4 separate regions of the Homo sapiens genome follow, and regions 1, 2 and 3 are each linked to region 4. The links are contacts of gene promoters, found by promoter capture Hi-C in blood cells and fetal thymus (Javierre and others, 2016). All regions are on one chromosome and are shown on one strand. Each heading gives the region's core, a stretch centred on a gene start or on the middle of the fragment in contact. The rest is flanking DNA. Distances are from core to core; before and after follow the strand shown.

The links. Contacts are between HindIII fragments. The CHiCAGO score rates a contact against its expected background, and 5 or more counts as called.
Region 1: a fragment that was not itself captured here is called in contact with the fragment with the promoter of EMC4 in region 4 in 2 of 17 cell types (neutrophils and M0 macrophages); the score reaches 7.4 in neutrophils.
Region 2: a fragment that was not itself captured here is called in contact with the fragment with the promoter of EMC4 in region 4 in 2 of 17 cell types (neutrophils and monocytes); the score reaches 8.3 in neutrophils.
Region 3: a fragment that was not itself captured here is called in contact with the fragment with the promoter of EMC4 in region 4 in 1 of 17 cell types (M2 macrophages); the score reaches 5.4 in M2 macrophages.

The regions. Positions count from the first base shown.
Region 1 is chr15:34,942,389-34,947,959 of GRCh38, reverse strand. It overlaps AQR (aquarius intron-binding spliceosomal factor), which reads left to right. Exons shown (of 35, transcript NM_014691.3): 6 at 3,532-3,672. It also overlaps the pseudogene RPL36AP8. Among named protein-coding and RNA genes, the nearest start is that of AQR, 25 kb to the left of the region's middle. The HindIII fragment of the contact is 1,420 bases long and covers 2,064-3,483 here.
Region 2 is chr15:34,915,603-34,920,892 of GRCh38, reverse strand. AQR (aquarius intron-binding spliceosomal factor) reads left to right here. Exons shown (of 35, transcript NM_014691.3): 14 at 459-561; 15 at 2,515-2,635. Among named protein-coding and RNA genes, the nearest start is that of AQR, 51 kb to the left of the region's middle. The HindIII fragment of the contact is 9,536 bases long and covers 1-5,290 here.
Region 3 is chr15:34,857,009-34,862,391 of GRCh38, reverse strand. AQR (aquarius intron-binding spliceosomal factor) reads left to right here. Exons shown (of 35, transcript NM_014691.3): 34 at 2,237-2,350; 35 at 5,286-5,383. Among named protein-coding and RNA genes, the nearest start is that of ACTC1, 64 kb to the right of the region's middle. The HindIII fragment of the contact is 7,297 bases long and covers 188-5,383 here.
Region 4 is chr15:34,222,730-34,228,661 of GRCh38, reverse strand. EMC4 (ER membrane protein complex subunit 4) reads right to left here and starts at 3,646. Exons shown (of 5, transcript NM_016454.4): 1 at 3,462-3,646; 2 at 3,012-3,126; 3 at 816-969; 4 at 73-233. The coding sequence starts at 3,547. RefSeq lists an enhancer at 3,283-3,332. The HindIII fragment of the contact is 12,421 bases long and covers 1-4,150 here.

The sequences.
Region 1 (5,571 bases), core at 1,524-4,023, 720 kb before region 4:
ATTATATTAATAAGTACAAATAGGCTGAGTGCTGTCACTCATGCCTATAATCCTGCACTTGGAAAGCTGAGGTGGGAGGATTGCTCGAAGCCAGGAGTTCAAGACCAGCCTGGGCAACAAAGCAAAAACTTGTTTCTTTAAAAAAAGAAAAAATTAGCCAGGCATGGTGGCATGAGTCTGTAGTCCCAGCTACTTGGGAGATTGATGCAAGAGGACCACTTGAGCCCAGGAGTTCGAGGCTGCAATGAACTATGATTGCACCACAACACTCCAGCCTGGGTAACAGAGCGAGGCCTGTCTCTAAGAAGAAGAAAAAAAAGCACAAGTATATAATGTTCAAATGAGATATTTTTCAGTGTCTTTTTTCACAAGAGGGAGTTTATTTTTATTTTTTTTGTCTTATTTTTATTTTTATTTATTTTATTATTATTATTATTATTATTATTTTTTTTATTGATCATTCTTGGGTGTTTCTCGCAGAGGGGGATTTGGCAGGGTCACAGGACAATAGTGGAGGGAAGGTCAGCAGATAAACAAGTGAACAAAGGTCTCTGGTTTTCCTAGGCAGAGGACCCTGTGGCCTTCCGCAGTGTTTGTGTCCCTGGGTACTTGAGATTAGGGAGTGGTGATGACTCTTAACGAGCATGCTGCCTTCAAGCATCTGTTTAACAAAGCACATCTTGCACCGCCCTTAATCCATTCAACCCTGAGTGGATACAGCACATGTTTCACAGAGCACAGGGTTGGGGGTAAGGTCACCGATCAACAGGATCCCAAGGCAGAAGAATTTTTCTTAGTACAGAACAAAATGAAAAGTCTCCCATGTCTACCTCTTTCTACACAGACACGGCAACCATCCGATTTCTCAATCTTTTCCCCACCTTTCCCCTCTTTCTATTCTACAAAACCGCCATTGTCATCATGGCCCGTTCTCAATGAGCTGTTGGGCACACCTCCCAGACGGGGTGGTGGCCGGGCAGAGGGGCTCCTCACTTCCCAGTAGGCGCGGCCGGGCAGAGGCGCCCCTCACCTCCCGGATGGGGCGGCTGGCCGGACGGGGGGCTGACCCCCCCCACCTCCCTCCCGGACGGGGCGGCTGGCTGGGCAGAGGGGCTCCTCACTTCCCAGTAGGGGCGGCCGGGCAGAGACGCCCCTCACTTCCCGGACGGGGCAGCTGGCCGGGCGGGGGGCTGACCCCCCCACCTCCCTCCCTCCCGGACGGGGCGGCTGGCCGGGTGGGGGGCTGACCCCCCCACCTCCCTCCCGGACGGGCGGCTGGCCGGGCAGAGGGGCTCCTCACTTTCCAGTAGGGGCGGCCAGGCAGAGGCGCCCCTCACCTCCCGGATGGGGCGGCTGGCCGGGCTGGGGGCTGACCCCCCCCACCTCCCTCCCGGACGGGGCGGCTGGCCAGGCGGGGGGCTGACCCCCTCACCTCCCTCCCGGACGGGGCGGCTGGCCGGGCGGGGGGCTGACCCCCCCACCTCCCTCCTGGACGGGGCGGCTGGCCGGGCGGGGGGCTGACCCCCCCCACCTCCCTCCCGGACGGGGCGGCTGGCCGGGCGGGGGGCTGACCCCCCCGACCTCAAGAGGGAGTTTATATTTGTAGTTTTACATGAATAAAAAAAGTTACCAAAGTCAAGACAGATGCTTACATTATAATTTCAATGTTCTTTTGGTTTTTTGTTTTGAGACTGAATTTAGCTCTTGTTATCCAGGCTGGAGTGCAAATGGCGTGATCTCAGCTCACTGCAACATCTGCCTCCCAGGTTCCAGCAATTCTCCTGCCTCTGCCTCCCAAGAAGCTGGGATTACAGGTGCCCGCCACCATGCCCAGCTAATTGTTGTATTTTTAGTAGAGATGGGGTTTCACCATATTGGCCAGGCTGGTCTCAAACTCCTGACCTTAGATGATCCACCCGCCTCGGCCTCCCAAAGTGCTGGGATTACAGGCATGAGTCACTGTGCCTGGCCTGTTCTTTTTGTCCTTGATTTGGGATCTATTTTTCCTTTTAGAAATTTCTAATGCACTGATGTTTCCTTTTTGTGCTGGTGCAACAGAAGCTTGATCAGTAGGGATCCAAAATCTTTGTTTTCTTTGCCCGCCATATAATGGTCACTTCATCAAGAGTTTCTTCTCTTCCAGTCAGACTTTTTTAAATGAAAAAAAGGAATGGATGCCTGTCATCTGTTTTGAGTAAATGGTCACCAAAGTGAAAAGGTGATAGAGTCTTTAAGATAAAACCATGGACACTTATCTCAAATATTCATTAAATGACTACCATCTCAGGGCACATTAGAGCTCAGAATAAACTATGGGTTTTATGTCACTATCAAGAGAGCCTAGGGGTTTCTTCAAGTTGCTTCAAGCTATTATAGAAATACAGAAAGGAAGAAGGAAAATTTTTTGAGCCAGGGAATAACCTGGTCAGTTTACCTGTTATAAAGATCACTTTGGTGATTAGGCCTTGAAATAGAGAAATGATAATACAGATTTAGAGGATATACAGAGATGTAGAAGGTAGAATTGATTGAATTTGATAATCAGTTGAAGTAGCATTAGGAAAGGGTGTTATTTTCAATAACCTTCCAGGCTTGGGCAAATGAATATAATATATGATGGTGCCATTTACCAAGATAGGTAATAGAGAGTGAGGAATAATTTGGAGGATACAAAACTGTTGAATTGAATTTGGACATATTCAGTTTAAATTGCCTTTGGAATATCTAGATTAAGTCATCTAGTAGAGGAATCTAAGGTTTGAGAGCTCAGAAGAGAAATCTGGACTGCAGATGTATATTTGGAATCATTGGTATTTAGTGGTTGAAGTAATAGAGGGAGAAGAATGAGGCTAGAACCCTACGAATATTGCGGTTTAGATAACAGGCAAAAGAAGAAGAGCCTTCAATATGGTGAAAAGGAGTTGAGAGTTAATAAGGGTCCATAGGACTTGACAGCCATACAGCTTCAGGAGAGCTTGTCTTAGAGAAGTGAATGAAAACAACTAGTATAGACCACACGCTTGGAGCATTTGTCTGTGGCAGTAACTAGAAACAGAGGTAGGTCAAAGAGGCTTGAATATATTTACATTATTTACAAGTTAAGAGTAAAGAGCTAATATAAAGCAGGAGGGGCTGTTCTTGAGATTAATTACAGTGTGAAAACTACAATTTTTGCTAAAGATGTAGTTTCTTTTGTTTAAATCAGAGAAATTAAAACACTTCAGATCCTTAATAAGAAAACAAAGCCTAAGCTAAATACAGGCATAATCCACAGAGGAAAAACTAAAGAAATGAAAGCCATTATTTTATTAGCTAAAGGGTTCTGCAGCTCTCTCATAGTCCTGTCAGAAACCTGTATTTGACTTGCCATTAATTATAAGTAAGCACGTGATGCTTCTTTTATACATATACAAATAACCCTTTTGTAATTATTTGGTTTTTTTAATAGACTGCTAAAAAGCCTACTAGGGCTTCTTTAAAGCTTAAGTGAGCAAGCCAATACAAAATGAATTTTATTCTGTTTCTTTTCAGATTTTTAAGAAGAAGCCAGACCACTTCCCATTCTTTTTTAAACACATCTTGAAGGCGGCATTAGCTGAAACTGATGGTGAATTTTCACTTCATGAACAGACAGTCTTACTACTTTTTCTTGATCATTGCTTCAATAGTTTGGTACTTTTACTTTATATTTTGGGGTAATTTTCAAGTTTTCTTGTTCTTTTAGGTTGAGTTTAGATGAAATTACCTCTGTAGCCAACTCCATTCATCCATAATAGCAGGCAATAAGGATAATGCTAAAAGCTTGATTTCAGCCACTTATCAGTAAAACCATTTTATAAGTCTTTAAGATATGTTTTTATAAGATATGTTCACTTTTTAATAGATTTGAAATTGATACTTAATTTTTTCTATCTAGACTCTTAAGAAAAATGATTATAAGAACTGAAACTCTAAAGGGAGAGCACAAAAATGAGAAGCAGCAAGGAGACTGGTTATATGGAATTGGAGTAATGAGATCTGTGCCACAAACTGCATATACATACAGGAATGTAGTTTCATTGCTTTTCATCATGCCTTATGCATAGGCTGGTTAGTCAACAGGAGAGTTGTATTTTGAGTTGACTGATAAAGGCCAAGTGTAAATGATCTTTGAAAATGTCTTGTGTGTGATACATTTTCATCCTTCATAAGATTATCTTCTAAAAAATTAAATATTTTCAGTAATATTTTATTTGAGCTTTCCTGTGTGGTTAGCTGATAAATACACATATTTATTTAGTGCCTCTGAATTGATAATTCACTTACACCCATGCAGGAGGAATGCATGGAGTTCTTTCTTATTCTGAAGACTGAGTGTTAATAGATGGATGATTATTACCTGTTTCCATGTACTATCTCACATGGATCTTTTAAAGGCATAAAAAAAGATTTATGATGCCTGCACTGGATACCACTGTTATCTCTTTAACATTTATTTTTATTTATTTATTTATTTATTTATTTATTTATTTATTTTGAACATAAACTCAAGATTTTATTGTCTTCATAATAAAAGATGACACTTAGAACTGAATCACTTGGCCCTTTCTCTTCTTATCTCCTCCCAGTTCAAAATGCTTGCATCTTTTAATAGCCAGCATTCTCTTAGATCTGCAGTTGGGCTCAATGCACTCAAGCCTTAGCACAATCTTTGTAGTTTTAGCCTTTTTCCAGAAAATTGGCTTAGTTTGCCCACCATAGCCACTCTGCTTCCTGTCATAACGCCGCTTTCCCTGGGCATACAGAGAATCCTTGCCCTTCTTGTACTGTGTCACTTTATGGGGTTGGTGCTTGCCACACTTCTTACAGAAAGTCCGGCGGGTTTTAGGGACGTTAACCATGCTTGCGTGAGCGTTATCGGCACAGAAAGCCTCTTTAACATTTATTAAACTAAACAGAACAAATAGAAATATAAATAGATGTGATTTTTTTATCAGAAACTAAACAGAAACAAGATTTTATTAGTATTAGTAATTTGGTGATAGTTTTAGCCAACTTACCAAACTAGTTTATTATTGAAATGCTTTATCTTTTAAAATATGCAGTCAGTTCTTATTTGAGGTAGTTATGTTCATTTTATAAAGTAGCTATGAACATTGAATGAGCTAATGCTGAACCATTACTCCTTGGGGAAATACAGGGTTAGGTTCCTGCAAGCCTTGGTCATGACATTTTACAAACTATCAATACATAGCCTTATTTTATGTGTGTTTCTATTTAAAGACAGCTTATTTATTGTATATTATTGATTCATTAACCATGAACTCACTGCCAACAGCACTGTAATTATGCCTGAACGAAGCTTATCTAACATACGTATTTACTCTGTAAGACATATCACAGCCTTCTTGCACCCATGAACATCAGACAGCACTTCAGCCTTGGGCTTGTTGCCATTTTAAACAGCGAAATCATCAAAAAGCACAAGCGTGCCAAAAAAAATAGTACTCAATAGACCACAAAAAGGATACTTGTTTCTTACAGTATGAGAGCTGAGAATGAAGCAGAGCATCAGCTCAGTCTCACCTGAGA
Region 2 (5,290 bases), core at 217-2,716, 690 kb before region 4:
TCCGCCTCCCGGGTTCACGCCATTTTCCTGCCTCAGCCTCCCGAGTAGCTGGGACTACAGGCGCCCGCCACCACGCCCGGCTAATTTTTTGTATTTTTAGTAGAGACGGAATTTCACCATGTTAGCCAGCATAGTCTCGATCTCCTGACCCCGGGATCTGCCTGCCTCGGCCTCCCAAAGTGCTGAGATTACAGGCCTGAGCCACCTTGCCCTGCCGGTATTAATATTTAAAAGTGTTCTTGGGGACTGCCCAGAAGGATCTTGGGTACAATGAGAGGTTTGCAGAAAATATTTTGAGAACCCTGCACTAAAGCCTTAATTTTCATTGCTGGTTTTTGATATTTGCTGCCCATGTCATAGTATTATATTTGCTTTTTTAAGCTATTTGTAAAAATACATGTTTCAAAAGTGAAGTGAAGTAAGTTACTATGAATAAAATATTGTTCTCTATTCTGCAGTTCAAACACACTCCACCAGGTGGCATCATACCTCTGCTTGTTGCCAACTCTTCCTAAAAATGAAGACACAACTTTTGATAAAGAATTTCTTCTAGAATTGCTGGTAAATATTAATGTTCTCTGAATTTTGCATGTGGTTTTCCTTGCCTTTTAAAGTCATTCTTAAAGATGTAGGTTCATATAGATTTTTTTGTGGGCCAAAGATTAGGCAGATAATTCCCATTTTGTTTTTGGAATTGTATTATCATTTGATTTTTTGTTTTCTCATCTTTCGAATTTCTTTACTCAAGTATTTTATCTCTTCGAACTACTTTCTGGATGAATCATTCTATTAGCAACTATTTATATGCAAATCACTTTCATTGTCTCTTTCAGTTCCTAAAAATTCCTGTGCTATTTTCTGACAATGTAAAACCTCTCATGAGTAAGGTTTTTGGAATTAATAATAACTCTTTGCAATAGAAAGAAATGAGGATTTTTTTCAGGAATTCTTCTTCTTTTTTTGTTTTTTTGTTTGTTTGTTTGTTTTGTTTTTTTGATACCGAGTCTCTCTCTGTCGCCCAGGCTGGAGTGCAGTGGCGTGATCTCAGCTCACTGCAACCTCTGCCTCCCAGGTTCAAGTGATTCTCGTGCCTCATCTTCCCGAGTAGCTGGTATTACAGATGTGTGCCACCACTCCCAGCTAATTTTTGTATTTTGAGTAGAAGATAGAGTTTCGCCACGTTGGCCAGGCTGGTCTTGAACTCCTGGCCTCAAGTGATTGACCCACCTCAGCCTCCCAAAGTGTTGGGTTACAGGCATGAATCACCGTGCCCAACCTGTTTTCAGGAATTCTTCTAATGGAAAATAAGTTTGAGGATAACGTTGATCCTGTGCCTATTAAGGTCTTGTGGCTAGAATTTTATTCCTAAAATTTAAATAGTTCCAACAAAAGAAAATAATTTTTAAAATGTATAGTGCTACAACATTATGTTTTGTTTCCTCCCTTCCCTAAAGGATTTCCCCAGGCTTTGGATTCTTCTACTATTCAATTTATGATCAAAAAGTTAAAACATACATATTGTTTAGATATCATGATTTTTTCTATAATTATACTATCTTCACTGAAGAGAATGTGATACATTTTAAGAATATGTCATTTTAGCATTATTAGATAAACACTTATTTTTCTTTTTCTTTCTTTTTTTTTTTTTTTTGAGATGGAGTCTCACTCTGTCCCCCAGGCTGGAGTGCAATGGTGCAATCTCGGTTCACTGCAACTTCCGCCTCCCGGGTTCAAGCAATTCTCTTGCCTCAGCCTCCTGAGTAGCTGGGATTACAGGTGTGCACCACCACGCCCAGCTAATTTTTGTATTTTTAGTAGAGATGGGGTTTCACCATGTTGGTCAGGCTAGTCTTGAACTCCTCACCTCAGGTGATCCACCTGCTTCAGCCTCCCAAAGTGCTGGGATTAAAGGCATGAGCCACTGCACCCGGTGTAACACTTATTTTCATATTTGAGATAGATTATTAATATTAAGGGTACACAGAGGTCATCATGGAAAGGAACATAGAGTGAGAAGACTAGGGTGATAGATTAATAAACTTTCCCAGATGGTATAGCTAGTTAGTATAAGAATGAAAACTATAGTCCAAAACCTAGAGCTCCTATTTTTTCCTACATTGATTAATGCTAAGTGTCATGGTTTTTAAACCCTTGGCATGTGCCAGGGACTTTGACACTATTTCATATTTCATTGGAAACTTGAGATGTGTGGCACTTTATCTGTTTTAGTGAAAAGGAAACTAAGGTTAGGAAGGTTAAAGTAACGTGCCCAGCTTTTACAGTACTCATAAGTAGAGGAGCTGGGATTTGAACTCAGGTCTGTCTGATTCCAAAGACCATTACCATTGGTTTGTTTCTCATCTTTGATCTATGGAGAAAATAGGAAAAGAAAAAAAAATCGCTTGTTGAACTGCTACAATAACTGATAGGCATGAAACTTCTTCCATAAATTATTTTGATTGAAAAAAGATGCTTCTAACCTTCTGCATGAACTTGTTTCCTTTATTTTAGGTATCTCGTCATGAACGTCGAATTTCTCAGATTCAGCAGTTGAACCAGATGCCTTTGTATCCAACTGAGAAAATTATATGGGATGAAAATATTGTCCCAACTGAGTACTATTCTGGAGAAGGTATGGTAAAGAAGTATGGATTCAGCTGTACAATGAAACAATTTCAGATTTATCATATATAATTGGCAATTATAGGCAGTGTACTTGAGTCTACTCTGTACATTAGGATAATTTCCTGGTGCCCAGAAGTTAACTTTAGAAGCTAGAAAAGATTTAGTATTTTGAATGCTTTAGCACTAAGGGTTTTTATTAAATTTAACTATACACATATCACCCTGTAAAAAATACGACCATAAAGCCCTAAGACTGTTTTGGTTTTTTTTGTTTGTTAGTGTGAGACAGGGTCTTGCTCTGTCACCCAGGCTGGAGCGCAGTGGTGCAGTCTCAGCTCACTGCAGCCTCAGTCTCTGGGCTCAAGTGATCCTCCCACTTCAGCCTCCCGAGTACCTGGGACCACAGGCGTGCACCACCACACCCAGCTTTTTTTTTTTTTTTTTAGTAGAGACAAGGTCTCGCCATGTTGCTCAGGCTGATCTCGAACTCCTGAGCTCAAGCGATCTGCCCACCTCAGCCTCCCAAAGTGCTGGGATTATAGGTGTGAACCACTGCAGCTGACCATAAGACTGTTTTCAAGGAGACCTTATAATGCATGAAGTATAGCTTTCATTTTGTCACTATGATAGGCTGTGTTTGATAGAGCTTTTGTTTTTCAAAGGCTTTTCTTAGGGGCTCTTTTGAATTCTATGTAAAGCAGGTAATGATCACCAAAAAAAAGACATTATCATTTATTGATAGTAAACCCTTAGTGTTGATCCAAAATGGTATTGCCTAGTTTGTTCACTTATTTCCCCAGATTTGGATCTAAACACTTTTCACGCATCCTCTGAGGATGAGAATTTGCCACAACTGAGTATATGCAAAAGTGCATTCAGATATACTTTGAAGGTATATTTCAAAAGAAATTTCAGGACTTTTTTGAACAATGGCATCATTAGTAGAAGAAATGTGACTGTTTTAAAGACATCACAAGTATAAGTATTGGTATATTTACTTAAAATGGTTAATCTAAGACATATCCTAGAGCCATAACTCCGATAGACCCAGTGCACTAATATTGTGCTAGATTTCAGAACATAGGCAGTCTTCATATCTTTTTATGTTCTTACAGTGGTTAATATGTTGCTTTCTCATGTCTAGGGATGCACACCTGGATGATAAAACTATAAAGAAATTCAAGATAGCGATTGCTATAAAAGTCAGAAAATAGTTACTTTCGGGTAAAGGGAAGAAGCTGTAACCAGGAAAGGGCACATAGGAGTATTCTGGGATAGCTGACAAGGTGGTTACAAGGTTTCATTAAAAAAATGTCTTTTACTTTACTGGTACCTTCTATACATCCCTTTTTTTCTTTCTTTCTTTTTTTTTTTTTTTTTTTGTTCTGCTGAAGAACTTGAGTTGTTTGATCATAGAGTTCCCGTAGTCTATAGATTTTTCTGATTGAATACTCATGGTATATTGCAGCATGTTCCTCTGTTCTTTATTTTTCTTGCAAATTAGTACCACCTTGTGCAGAGGCTTGATCAGGCTAAGGTTATCCTTGGCAAGATTCTTGGTGGTGGTGTGTTCTTTCATCAGGAGGCACATACTATCTACTTGTCTCTTTTTTTGTGCTATTAGTAGCTATAGATATTTAACACCTAGATTTGTTAATTCAGTGAGTGTTGCAAAGTGGTGACATTTTAGTTGTCATTTTTTTAAATAAAAATGTGCTATTGAAAGAAATTGAGTTAGATTACAAGTCAGAGTTTACTAATATAAATAATGTTAAATTTTTGTACATCAATGTTTGTTGTATTTAAGTTTATTTTTTTTTTTGGTAGTATGGACAACAATGATGAGACTATGACTTATCAGTAAAATGTGTTCTGGGATTTTTTAAAACCTTTTTGATATTGCAGCTCAGTGGTCACTTATTGTCTAAGAGAAATAGTGTTAAGTGAGAATAATGAAAAGGGGGAGTCTGGAATAACATACAAACAATGTCTGGTCCTTAAAGTTTAGCCAGAAGGCAAGTTCAGAGCACAATAATAATCATTGGAGATTGATTTATGCAATGTAACATAATAATTCAGTGTTCATGCTAAATTTTGTCATGGGCTAAATTTATGGTAACATTATTCACTTCAGTATTTTGCCAAATATAAATTAGGTGATAAGGGAAGAAGTTTTAAACTACTTGAGACTGTTAGTACAAGTATCTTTAAATACTTTGAAGGAGTACTGTTTACATACAGATCACTCATATGCAGATTACATGTATTAATAAAACTCATCCTTCACCCCAATTCTCTCTCTTTTTTTTTTTTTATTTGAGACGGAGTTTTGCTCTTGTTGCCCAGGCTGGAGTGCAAGGACATGATCTTGGCTTCCTGCAACCTCTGCCTCCCGGGTTCAAGTGATTCTCCTGCCTCAGCCTCCTGAGTAGCTGGGATTACAGGCGCCCGCCATGACACCCAGCTAATATTTTGTATTTTTAGTAGAGATGGGGTTTCACTATGTTGGCTAGGCTGTCTCAAACTCCTGACCTCAGGTGATCCACCGGCCTCGGCTTCCCAAAGTGCTGGGATTACAGGCGTGAGCCACCGTGCCCGGCCTCACCCCTAATTCTTAATAGCCAACATTTATTAATCTGGTTTTAACATCTGTGTGAAAACA
Region 3 (5,383 bases), core at 2,587-5,086, 630 kb before region 4:
AGTAGTTTGGCCATGCATCTAGCAGATAGAGGATCCAAGATCTGAAAAGCCAGGAGGTCTTTTCGAATAACATCCCAGAGTTCATGTTATTTATCATTATACTGTACTGTTTGTCTTCAGCTTTGTAAGGAGAACTTAACTACTTACTTGGAAATAGAGCAATAAATAGTTGAGTTCTTAAGAAGCTTACATTCTGGGGAAATGAGGGAGGAGAGAGCACATATATTTAAAGAAAAGATAGAGAAATACTACTCCCTCTTATCTCCCCTTCTTTCTCCCCTTTTCCTAGCACCTTCCCTCCATAGGTAACCAGTTTCTTTAGTTTCACGTTTATCCTTATATTCCTTTTGTATAAAGGAGAAGAGATATGTTACTTTTATATTATTTTCCTTCAGGTTATTATACTATAGACTTTTGGGCTTTGCTTTTTCATTTAATGAATTGTCCTAGGGGGGTCCATTGGATTTTAAATAACATTATTTTAGATGTTCACAGTATACGTCTTCCCTCCACCCCTACTAAAAAAAAACTTAAATCTTGTGTGTTTAATAATAATAAGTACTTTATAAAAAGTGCCTTTTTATTTACTTATTTTTGAAGAAATGCTGCTGTGGAGAAATAGGAAAATGGTGGAGAGAGATCATGGGGTGGTAGGGTCACATAAAGCCTCAAGTGTCAGGCTCAAGTCTAGACACAATCCTATTATATCCGAGTTTCTTGATCTTTTGTGGGCTAGTAAACAGGCACATTCCTGACAAGAGGTCTGGGACAGAGCCTAGGTGTCATCATGTGTAACAAGCTCCCCACGTGCTTTCTATGTAAGGGCTACATGTCACACCTGAAGAAATCTGGAGTGCAGGTCAGACAATATCACTGAACAGAAGGCTTGGAAACCCATGCTTTAGATAACACTCATGAGTTCAAGGCCCTGGGGAGGTTAGGGCTGAGAACATCTCCCCATCTTCTCCTCAAGAGATAGTGAGGGGCGGAGAGTGCTGTGTCTCAAGGAAAGGCAGCTCTTGGCAAGACTCCAGAAAATAAGCTAACAAGCAAAAACTCTTCCATGTTCCTAGTCATAATAGCATGGCCGTATTTGTACATACGAGTTCTGACCATTGCAGAAAATGACCATTAATCAAAAGAATACCTGCTTAGATGGAATGCTGCCATCCTGCTTACTTCTGAGAAATGTTGTTTAATTTACTAAATTATTTCTAACTTCATGCTCTTTAAATAACTTTTCACTTTGAGATTGAATCCTCCTTTTTTGGGGTATGTTTTTTACCTTAATGATTTTCTAAATTGTTCCTATCATAAGAAAGGATAAGACTTTATAAGCATTTTATTAATAACTATAAATAGGAAAGTTGTTAATCTCTATTTTAGGGTGGTTTAAAAAGAAGTGCAAATTCTGTATTTTCTTGATTTGCTTTACTACCTTACCTACACTTATAGAGCAGTGTTTCTTAGATTGTTGTCAGAAGCTACAGAAGAATCAGCTCATTCCACCCAGACCTTCTGAATCTGAATCTATAGGGCTGGAGCCTAGGTACCTGCAATTTAACAGTCTACCCCAGATGATTCTGATAGACACCAAAATCTTAAAAAGAGCATTTGAATATTCACCCTCTTGACTCATAGTATATGTGTTAAATAAAAGTAAATGTTAGCCTCTTACTTTTTAGAAAAATATAAGTAGGACAAAGAGTGTTAATATTTTCTTTCTGAATTATCTTAAGAACTGTCTTTGGAGCATACACAGTCTTAGAAACTGCTGTTTCAGACTGTGTTGACTTTTCTCTCTAGTCAAATAATTACTTATCTTGTACTAATTCTTTTATATTAGATAGTAAACTAAAACCCATACTTAACTTACCAGCCCAAAATTATATTAAAAGCTGGCAACTCTTAGCTCTTCTAGTCTCTAACCTTTCTAAATTTCAATGGAATCACTATTCTTCATGAAGTCTTTTTTTTTTTTTAATGGGAGTCACGTGGCCAGCAGGCAGAGCGTGCTGACCTGGGCCCCCTTTTTATTAATTCTATTTAAGTCTTTTTTTAACATTCATGAAGTCTTCATTGGACTCTTCACACTTGCATTTTATGTCCTCTTACTGTTAGGTCTTCCAGACCCTAATTGTGCTTATTCATAAGATTAAGAAATGGGTTTATGTTGAAGTGTTACCTTCTAGGGTTGTTTTACTAGATACTTAACGTTCTTTTTTCCTTCTTCTAGAATGGAGAGAGACCATCTCATGAAGTACAAATAATAAAAAATATGCCCCAGATGGCAAACTTTGTATACAACATGTACATGCATTTGATACAGACTACACATCATTATCATCAGGTGAGTTTCTCAAAATCGACTTTTATTTTTCTTGCTGTAGAAATAATTTTCTTTTTTTCAGAATAAATCTTTAAAGTACCTAATTCCTTGTGGGAAATCAGCTAAACTAAAGCAGGCTATTATTATTTATGTAACATTCGTATTTTTAAAACTTCTTTATATAGTTAGAATTCCACATACAATAAAGTCCACAAACTTAAAGTGTAAAATTTTATATGTTCTGGCATAGGTATTTACCTGTGAAGCCATCAGCACAGTCAAGATAAAGAGCATATCCATTATCCCAAGAGTTTTCCCTTGTGCCCATTTGTAATCCCTCCTTGCCCTTCACCAGTCCCCTTTTTACCTTCCCAGGCAGCCAAGGATCTGCTTTCTGTCATGATAGGTTTGCTTCTATTTTCTAGATTTTTATATAAATGGAAGCATACAGTATGTATTCTTATTTTTTCTGGCTACTATTGCTTATACAAGTCTTTGTACTTTATCTTGGGTAGATACCTAAGAGTGGAATGGCTGAATTTATGTTAAGGATGTGTTTAACTTTTTAAGAAGCTACCAACCTGTTTTTCAAAGTGGTTGAACCACTTTACACTCTCAGCAGCAGTGTGAGAGTTCTAGTTGCTACACATCCTCACCCTCACTTGATATGGTACGTCTTTTTAAAATTTTGGCAGTTCTAATAGATATACAGTGGTCTCAGTATGGTTTTGGTTTTCATTTCCCTAAGGACTGATGATGAGCATCTTTTCATGTGGTCATTTGCCATCTGTATATCTTTGGGGATGTGTCTGCTCAGGTTTCCTGCTCATTTTTTTATTAGGCTGTATATTTTATTAAGTTTTGAGAGGTTTTTATTTATTCTGGCTACAAGTCCTTTATCTGATATGTATTTTACAAATATTTTCTCCCATTCTGGCTTGTTTATTTATTTTGTAAGTGTCTTTCAAAGAGCAAAAGTTTTAAATTTTGATGAAGTTCAATGTATCAAAGTGTTCTTTTATGATTCATGCTTTTTATGTCCTAAAAATACATAGCCTAACTCAGAGGTATAAAGGTTTTTTCTAGAAGTTGCAGAGTTTTAGGTTGGATACTTAGGTATGATGCATTTTGAGTTAATTTTTATATGATACAGGTAGGACTGAGTTTTATTCATTTGTCTGTGGATATGCAGTTGTTTGAGCACCACTTCCCTAATAGGCGATTTTTTTCTTTGTTGACTTGCTTGTCATCTTAGTCAAAATATCAATTGACTATATATGTGAGAGTCTGGGCTTTCTATTCTGTTCCATTATTCTGTATATCCGTCCCTTTGCCATGACTGTACTACCTTGATTATAGTAGCTTTACAGTCAGTCTGGAAATTAGATAACATAAGTCCTTTAGCTTTGTTCTTCATTTTAGAAATTGTCTTAGCTATCCCAGTTCCTTTGCTTTTCTGTATACATTTTACAATCAGCAGGTCAGTTTCTACCCCCAAAAGCATGCTGCAGTTTTTAAAAGGATATTTTGAAGAGGAGGATTGTTTAGGATCTATTTGGGGAGATTAACATCTTCACATATTAAGTCTTCCTATCCATGAATAAGATCTCTCGTTTATTTAGATCTTCTTTAAATTCTCATCAGGATTTTGTAGTTTTCAACATACAAACCTTACACATATTTTGTTAACATTTTGCTAAGTATTTTTCTTTTTCGTTTTCTTTTTTTTTTTTTTTTTTTTTGCTGCTGTCGTGCACGGTACTTTTTAAAAATCTTAAAGGCCAGGCGCGGTGGCTTATGCCTGTAATCCTAGCACTTTGGGAGGCTGAGGTAGGTGGATCACCTGCGGTCAGGAGTTCGAGACCAGCCTGGCCAACATGGTGAAACCCCGTCTCTACTAAAAATACAAAAATTAGCCAGGCATGGTGGTACATGTCTGTAATCCCAGCTACTTGGGAGGCTGAGGCAGGAGAATCGCTTGAACCTGGGAGACGGAGGTTGCAGTGAGCCAAGATGGCACCACTGCACTCCAGCTTGGGCGACAGAGTGGGACTCTGTCTCAGTCAATCAATCAATCGATCAATCAATTCATTCATTCAATTTCCAGCATTGTAAGCAGAGTCCCTGATGAGAAAGTCACTAGACTGCCATGGGGCAAAGGGCAAGCTAAGCATATAGAGTTGCTCCAGTTTTCTGGTTGAACGGAACAGAAACCTTGTTCCTTGCTGCTCCCTTCTCCCATGGCTTTGCCTTAAGGCCAGGCTCCTCTCTGCCTCTCACAGGGCTCTTTTTCTTTTCTTTTTCTTTTTCTTGAGACAGAATCTCTCTCTGTCACCCAGGCTGGAGTGCAGTGACACAATCTCAACTCACTGCAACCTCCAACTCACAGGGTCAAGTGATTCTCCTGCCTCAGCATCCTGAGTAGATGGGATTACAGGCTCCTGCCACCACGCTCAGCTAATTTTTGTGTTTTTTAGTAGAGATGGGGTTTCACCATGTTGGCCAGGCTAGTCTCGAACTCCTGGCCTCAAGTGATCCGCCTGCCTTGGCCTCCCAAAGTGCCGGGAATGCCACCATGAGCCACCGCACCCAGCTCACAGGGCTCTTTGATTAAAGTTGACCCTTTCTTGAGTTAGTTTTATAATCAGTCCTGATCAGTCACTGTTTTTTGCAGAAATGTTGACAGCAAAGTATGTTGCTTAAAAATCTAATAGCTTTTCATGGTTGTTTTCCTCTCTGAAGATTTTATATGTATTTTGATTATCAGTATATGACATCTGTGTAGGCATATTCCTTGGTGTTAGCAGAACCTAGACCATTGTCATCAGAGGTGTTACATCTGGAGTATAAAATGGTCAGCACTGTTTTGGAGAACTCTAGAATGGTAATGTGAGAGCTTAGCTTTATAAGCTGTTTTTCATATTGGTATTGTCTTTGTTTTTTTTTTTTTAATTAGACTTTATTACAACTACCACCTGCTATGGTAGAAGAGGGTGAGGAAGTTCAAAATCAAGAAACAGAATTGGAAACAGAAGAAGAGGCCATGACTGTTCA
Region 4 (5,932 bases), core at 2,397-4,896:
CCTACCATCAAGTAGGTCAGCTATTCACTGTATACTACAACTACCCAAAATTCAGCTTTTCTTTTGCCTTACCTCAGGGGGCTCAATGAAGGCTAACCAATCCGATGCATGTGTAGGTAACAGTCCCATGGACTGGCACTTGTAAACAGCCAATGCCAAACCCATCAGGTTCCCAATGAGATAGACCAAACCCTGAAGAAACTTCTGGCTTGAACTTTCTAACATCTTGAAAGCTGTTGCGGTAACAGAAGTTGTCAAACCAAAAGAACTCTTTCCCCCAATACGAATCAAGCCAACTGTATATTAAATTCATATAGACAGACCCATAGTAAGACAGCAAATAGGACCATTAAAGGCAAACAGAAAACCATGGTAAGCACTACACTCCCCTCCATGCCACCACCATTACCCCACTCCCCTATATACCTGTTAGCCAAAAACTGTCCCTAAGAATTTACCTTTAATTCTTCCTTTTTTTTGAGATGGAGTCTCGTTCTGTCACCCAGGCTGGAGTGCAGTGGCACGATCTCGGCTCACTGCAACCTCTGCCTCCCAGGTTCAAGTGATTCTCCTGTCTCAGCCTCCCAAGCAGCTGGGATTACAGGCGTGTGCCACCACGCCCAGCTAATTTTTGCATTTTTAGTAGAGACAAGGTTTCACCATGTTGGCCAGGCTGGTCTCGAACTCCTGCCCTCAGATGATCCACCCAGCTTGGCGCCTCCCAAAGTGCTGGGATTACAGGCGTGAGCCACCATGCCCGGCCTGCCTTTAATTCTTCAAACTTATGGAAGGGTTATTGTTTCAAGAATACTTACTGGCTGAAATGGCCATAAGTGCCTGAATGGGTCGCCAGGCCATCATACACACCATCATAGTAGGGAAGATGGAGATAGTATTGCCTGCCATGTACATGATGAAGAGATTCATGGGAATCTGTTTGAGGGGACCCAAGGCGATGTCCCAGCAGCGCTAAAACAAAACACACAATTTTAACCCTCTGATCACTACCCTTAGTCCCACATTTGCCATATCACTGATGCTAAATCACATGAACGGAATTCCCAACTCCCTGCTTCTAACTGAGCTGACTCCTCAATTCTACGACCTCTTCCCTTCTCCACGTTGCCACAGGAAGGCTCTCCTACTCAAGATAAAGTATCCTTACCATCTGTTATGCCTTTCCCTATAGGTTTTCCAGATGTCATTTTTTTCTCCTGATTTTGGAAAAAAGATCTCCCTGCTTTTGTCCTGGTACTTATGTATCTATCAATGTCCTATCTACAACTGAAGAAATAGATAAATCCACATAATGGGAGATTAGCACACCTCAGTCAATAACTAATAGAACCATCGAACTAATTTAGTTCCAGAAATAATAGAATTAGCAGGCAAATCAAGACATAGAAGATTTGAATGACATTAACAAACTTAACCCAACTGACATGTAACACTGCACTCAACAATTGCAGAATTCACATTCTTTTCAAACAAGATATTCACAAAAACTGACCACTCGCTGAGCCATGAAGAAAATGTCAATCTCAAAGAATGCAAATTGTACAAAACATATTCTTTGACTACAATGATATTAAACTAGAAATAATTTTATAGTAACTAGAAAATCTCTTATGTTTGGGAATTAACAATGATACATGAAGAAATTATAATGGAAAATAGATTTATATGATAGCAAAAGTACCACATTTTAAAACTCGTGGGACACAGCTAGAGTTCTGAGAAATTTATAACCTTAAATACATACTACCAGGTTGCTGCAAAAGTAACTGCGGTTGTTGCCATTAAAAGTAATGGCAATGTGGCCGGGCGCGGTGCCTCACACCTGTAATCCCAGCACTTTGGGAGGCCGAGCTTGGTGGATCACCTGAGGTCAGGAGTTTCAGACCAGCCTGGCCAACGTGGTGAAACCCCGTCTCTACTAAAAATACAAAAAAATTAGCTGGACGTGGTGGTGGGTGCCTATAATCCCAGCTACTCGGGAGGCTGAGGCAGGAGAATTGCTTGACCCTGGGAGGCAGAGGTTGCAGTGAGCCAAGGTCGTGCTATTGCATTCCAGCCTCGGCGACAACAGCAAGACTGTCTCAAAAGAAAAGAAAAAAAGTAATGGCAGTCTAAAAATAAACTAAGCATCCATTTCAAGAAACTAGAAAAAAACCCAAGTATTTTTGAAAAGATTAATAAAATCAATACTGGTGATGGGTACAGTGACCTGTAAAAATAAATGAAAATAATTTTTAAAAAATCAATACTGGTGAGCCTGATGAAGAAAGGAGAGGAGACAAAATATTCAATATCAGGAATGAAAAAATGAACATCACAGATCTTGCATATATGGAAGTGATCATATTATGAACAACTTTATATCAATACATTTGAAATTTTAGGAAATGGATAAGTTTCTAGAAAAAATGTAACAAAATGACAGGAGAAATTAGAAATATAAATAGCCCCGGGCCGAGCGCGGTGGCTCATGCCTGCAATCCCAGCACTTTGGAAGGCCAAGGCGGATGGATCACCTGAGGTCAGGAGTTCAAGACCAGCCTGGCAAACATGGTGATACCCTGTCTGTACTAAAAATACAAAAATTAGCCGGGCTACTGCAGAAATCTAGATGAAGGATGGTGGCTTGGATTAGGATGAGAGGTGAACACAGGAAAAAGTAGTAGGTAAAGCCAACAGAGTATCCTGACAGTTGGATATGTGGTGTAAGGGAACCAGAGTAGAAAAAGGATCACTTCAACTGGAAGATGTTGCCACCAAAAGATAGTTTTCAACCTACTTTCTTATACCTTATGTTCCAAACATCTTCTATTTTTCAAATTATTAAGCACTTTTGTAGCTGATATATAAAATACCGAAATACCAGCCTCAAGCAGTTTAGTTTCCAAATCTTCAGGATAAGAGCTATCTACGTTAACTCCACCTAGGAGAAGAGGATGAGTGTGTAACTCAGGACTGGCCCATGGGCTACGGTAACATCTATACCTCTGTACCTTCTCCACCAGGATCCGGTCTGTCTCTTGCACGCTGGTATCAGGCACTTGCTTGTCCAAGTAACCGACTGGGTAGAGCGAGTCTCCCTGGCCACTGCCCCGGTCACTTCGACCCCTAAAAAACCAAACCAAGAAACTAAAGCTGCAACCTCCGATACTTCTTATCCCACATTTCCTGATCTACCAATCATAGGAATAAAGATCTTCAGATGCACCTACTCAGATTAGACCAAGCCCCCTCGTATGTTCCTCAGTCCTTTGACTTATCAGGAGGACTGATGTAAGCATTGTTTGAGCAGAGAAACTTCCACGGCAGAAAAGCCGCTACCTCCCCAGGTGATGTCTGTGTGCCACCCATCTTTTTCAGAGTTATGCCTGAGGGCTCAGGTCTCATTACTCTGGTGCAGTTCTGGGATGAACAGTGATGTACAGCTTGCCCAGGTGCCTCACCTGCTGCCTCCTCCAGGCCCGCTTAGCTCAATGGCCCACTTGAAGCGCCGGCCTCGGTTAGCCACCAGGCCCCCCTGGGCCGTCATGGCAACAGCTGCGTCCTATAGCCTCGATGCTTCTCAGTCCAAAGCGTACTCCACAACAGGCCCACCAGCGTTCTCCGCTTTGTCTCACTCTGCAAATGCACTTCCGGCGCGTGAATACGACGTCATTTCCGCCCTGGAAATTGGTGGTGCTGTGGGTTGAGGAGTCCGGGTTTGGATTTAGAAAAGCAGGGAGGAAAAAAAACCAGGCAAGACTTAGTGCTTCCTAAAGCCACTTCCGCGCGCTCCCCTTTTGAATGTCCTTGTTATGTGTTCCCTGACCTCTGAGGTGCACTTTATGGGGCTGAAGGAAAGCCCATACTGACTCAGCGTTAAGAATTGGTGGGCGGATCACCTGAAGTCAGGAGTTCGAGACCAGCCTGGCTAACATGGTGAAACCCCGTCTCTACTAAAAATACAAAATATTAGCCGGGCTTAGTGGCGGGCGCCTGTAATCCCAGCTACTTAGGAGGCTGAGGCAGGAGAATCGCTTGGATCCGGGAGCCGGAGGTTGCAGTGAACTGAGACCGAGCGATTGCACGCCAGCCTGGGCAGCAAGAGCGAAACTCTGTCTCAAAAAAAAAAAAAAGGAAGCCAAGAAAAGCTTCTTAACCTCCTACGCGCTCCCTGGAACAAAAGATTCAAATCCTGGGTTTAAATCCTAGCTTGACCTTGAGCGAGTTACTTAGTAGTTTCTGAGTATTGAATGTCCACTGTGTCATGTGTTTATTTCATTTCACTTGCACAGTAACCTTGCGAGGTAAACAGTTCTAACCACATTCTGCACAAAGGCAAGGCAGCATTGTGGGCATGGAAGGGGACATGGGCTCGGTATTCAGTTAGCCTGCGTTTGTTGTTGTTTGTTTTGGGTTTGTTTTTTGAGACAGGGTTTCACTCCGTTGCCGAGGCTGTAGTGCAGTGGCGCTATCACGGCTCACTGCAGCCTCGACTTCCCCGGCTCAAGCGATCTTCCCACCTGAGCGTTCCTTCCAACCTGAGCGTTCCGAGGAGCTAGGACCACAGGGCGCGCCACCACGCCCCAGTCTTGTTTTGTTTTGTTTTGTTTTGTTTTGACAGGGTTTCGCTATGTTGCTCAGGCTGCTCTCAAACTCTTGGGTTCAAGTGATTCTCCTGCCTTGGCCTCCCAAAATGTTGAGATTACAAAGGCATGGGCCACTGCACCCAGCAGATGGCCTCCTTTTGAATCCTGGTTTCACCACTTAATAATTGTATGACCTTGGGCAAGTTGAATTTGTTTCAGCCTCTTCATGTAAAAGTTGGATAATCTACCTACTTTCAAGGCTTGTGAGATTAGTGCCCACCACATATCTGGTGTTTGGTTTGTTTGTGTTTTTGTTCGAGACGGAGTTTTGCTTTTGTTGCCCAGGCTGGAGTGCAATGGCACTATCTCGGCTCACTGCAACCTCCGTCTCCCGGGTTCAAGCAATTCTCCTGCCTCAGCCTCCCGAGTACCAGGGATTACAGGCGCACGCCACCACGTCCAGCTAATTTTGTATTTTTAGTAGAGATGGGATTTCACCGTGTTGGTCAGGCTGGTTTCGAACTCCCGACCTCAGGTGATCTGCCTGCCTCGGCCTCCCAAAGTGCTAGGTTATGTGGTGTTTTTAATGATGTATCACATCATTACCAAATAACACCATTGATGTGTTTTTAATGACGTGTCATTAAATAATGTATGTCATTCTTTAAAGTGATTGGGTTTTGTATGGTATACCTTTTTCATAATATAGCCTATTATTGGACATTTAAATTGTTTCCTGTTTTCCTTCCTTTTATAACCAGTGTTGCTGTGAACATATCTGTATGTCTTTTCTTATTTCCTAAAGTTATAGTCCTAGAAGTGAAATTGGAGTTGCTGGATCAAAGAGTATGCACATTTTTAAAGAATTTTCATTTTAAATGCCCACAGGAGCCAGGCGTGGTGGCTCACACCTGTCATCCCAGAACTTTGGGAGGCTGAGGCAGGAGGATTGCTTTAGCTCAGAAGTTCAAGACCAGCCTAGGCAACATAGTGAGACCTTGCCTCTGCAAACAACAACAAAAAAAATTAAAATGTCCACTAGGAAAAATGGCACCATTTACATTTCACAGTCTATAATTTTTTTAATAGTTTGAAATGGTACTGTATTATTTTTTAATTTGTATTTCTTTGACTCCAAGTTATTCGATATGGCTGGAGTTAGGGGGAAGGAGATGCTGTGGGAGGTAAGGTTGAAAAAGGCTTCCTTGGCCAACAAAAAAGTTGGGACTCTTGAAGATGATGATGATGTAAGAGAGGCTGAAGATTGCCACCTCCACTTTATTTTCTGATTTTAAAAATATGTGTTCATAGCAGACTACTTAAACAAGGCAGAAATGGAAGTCTTT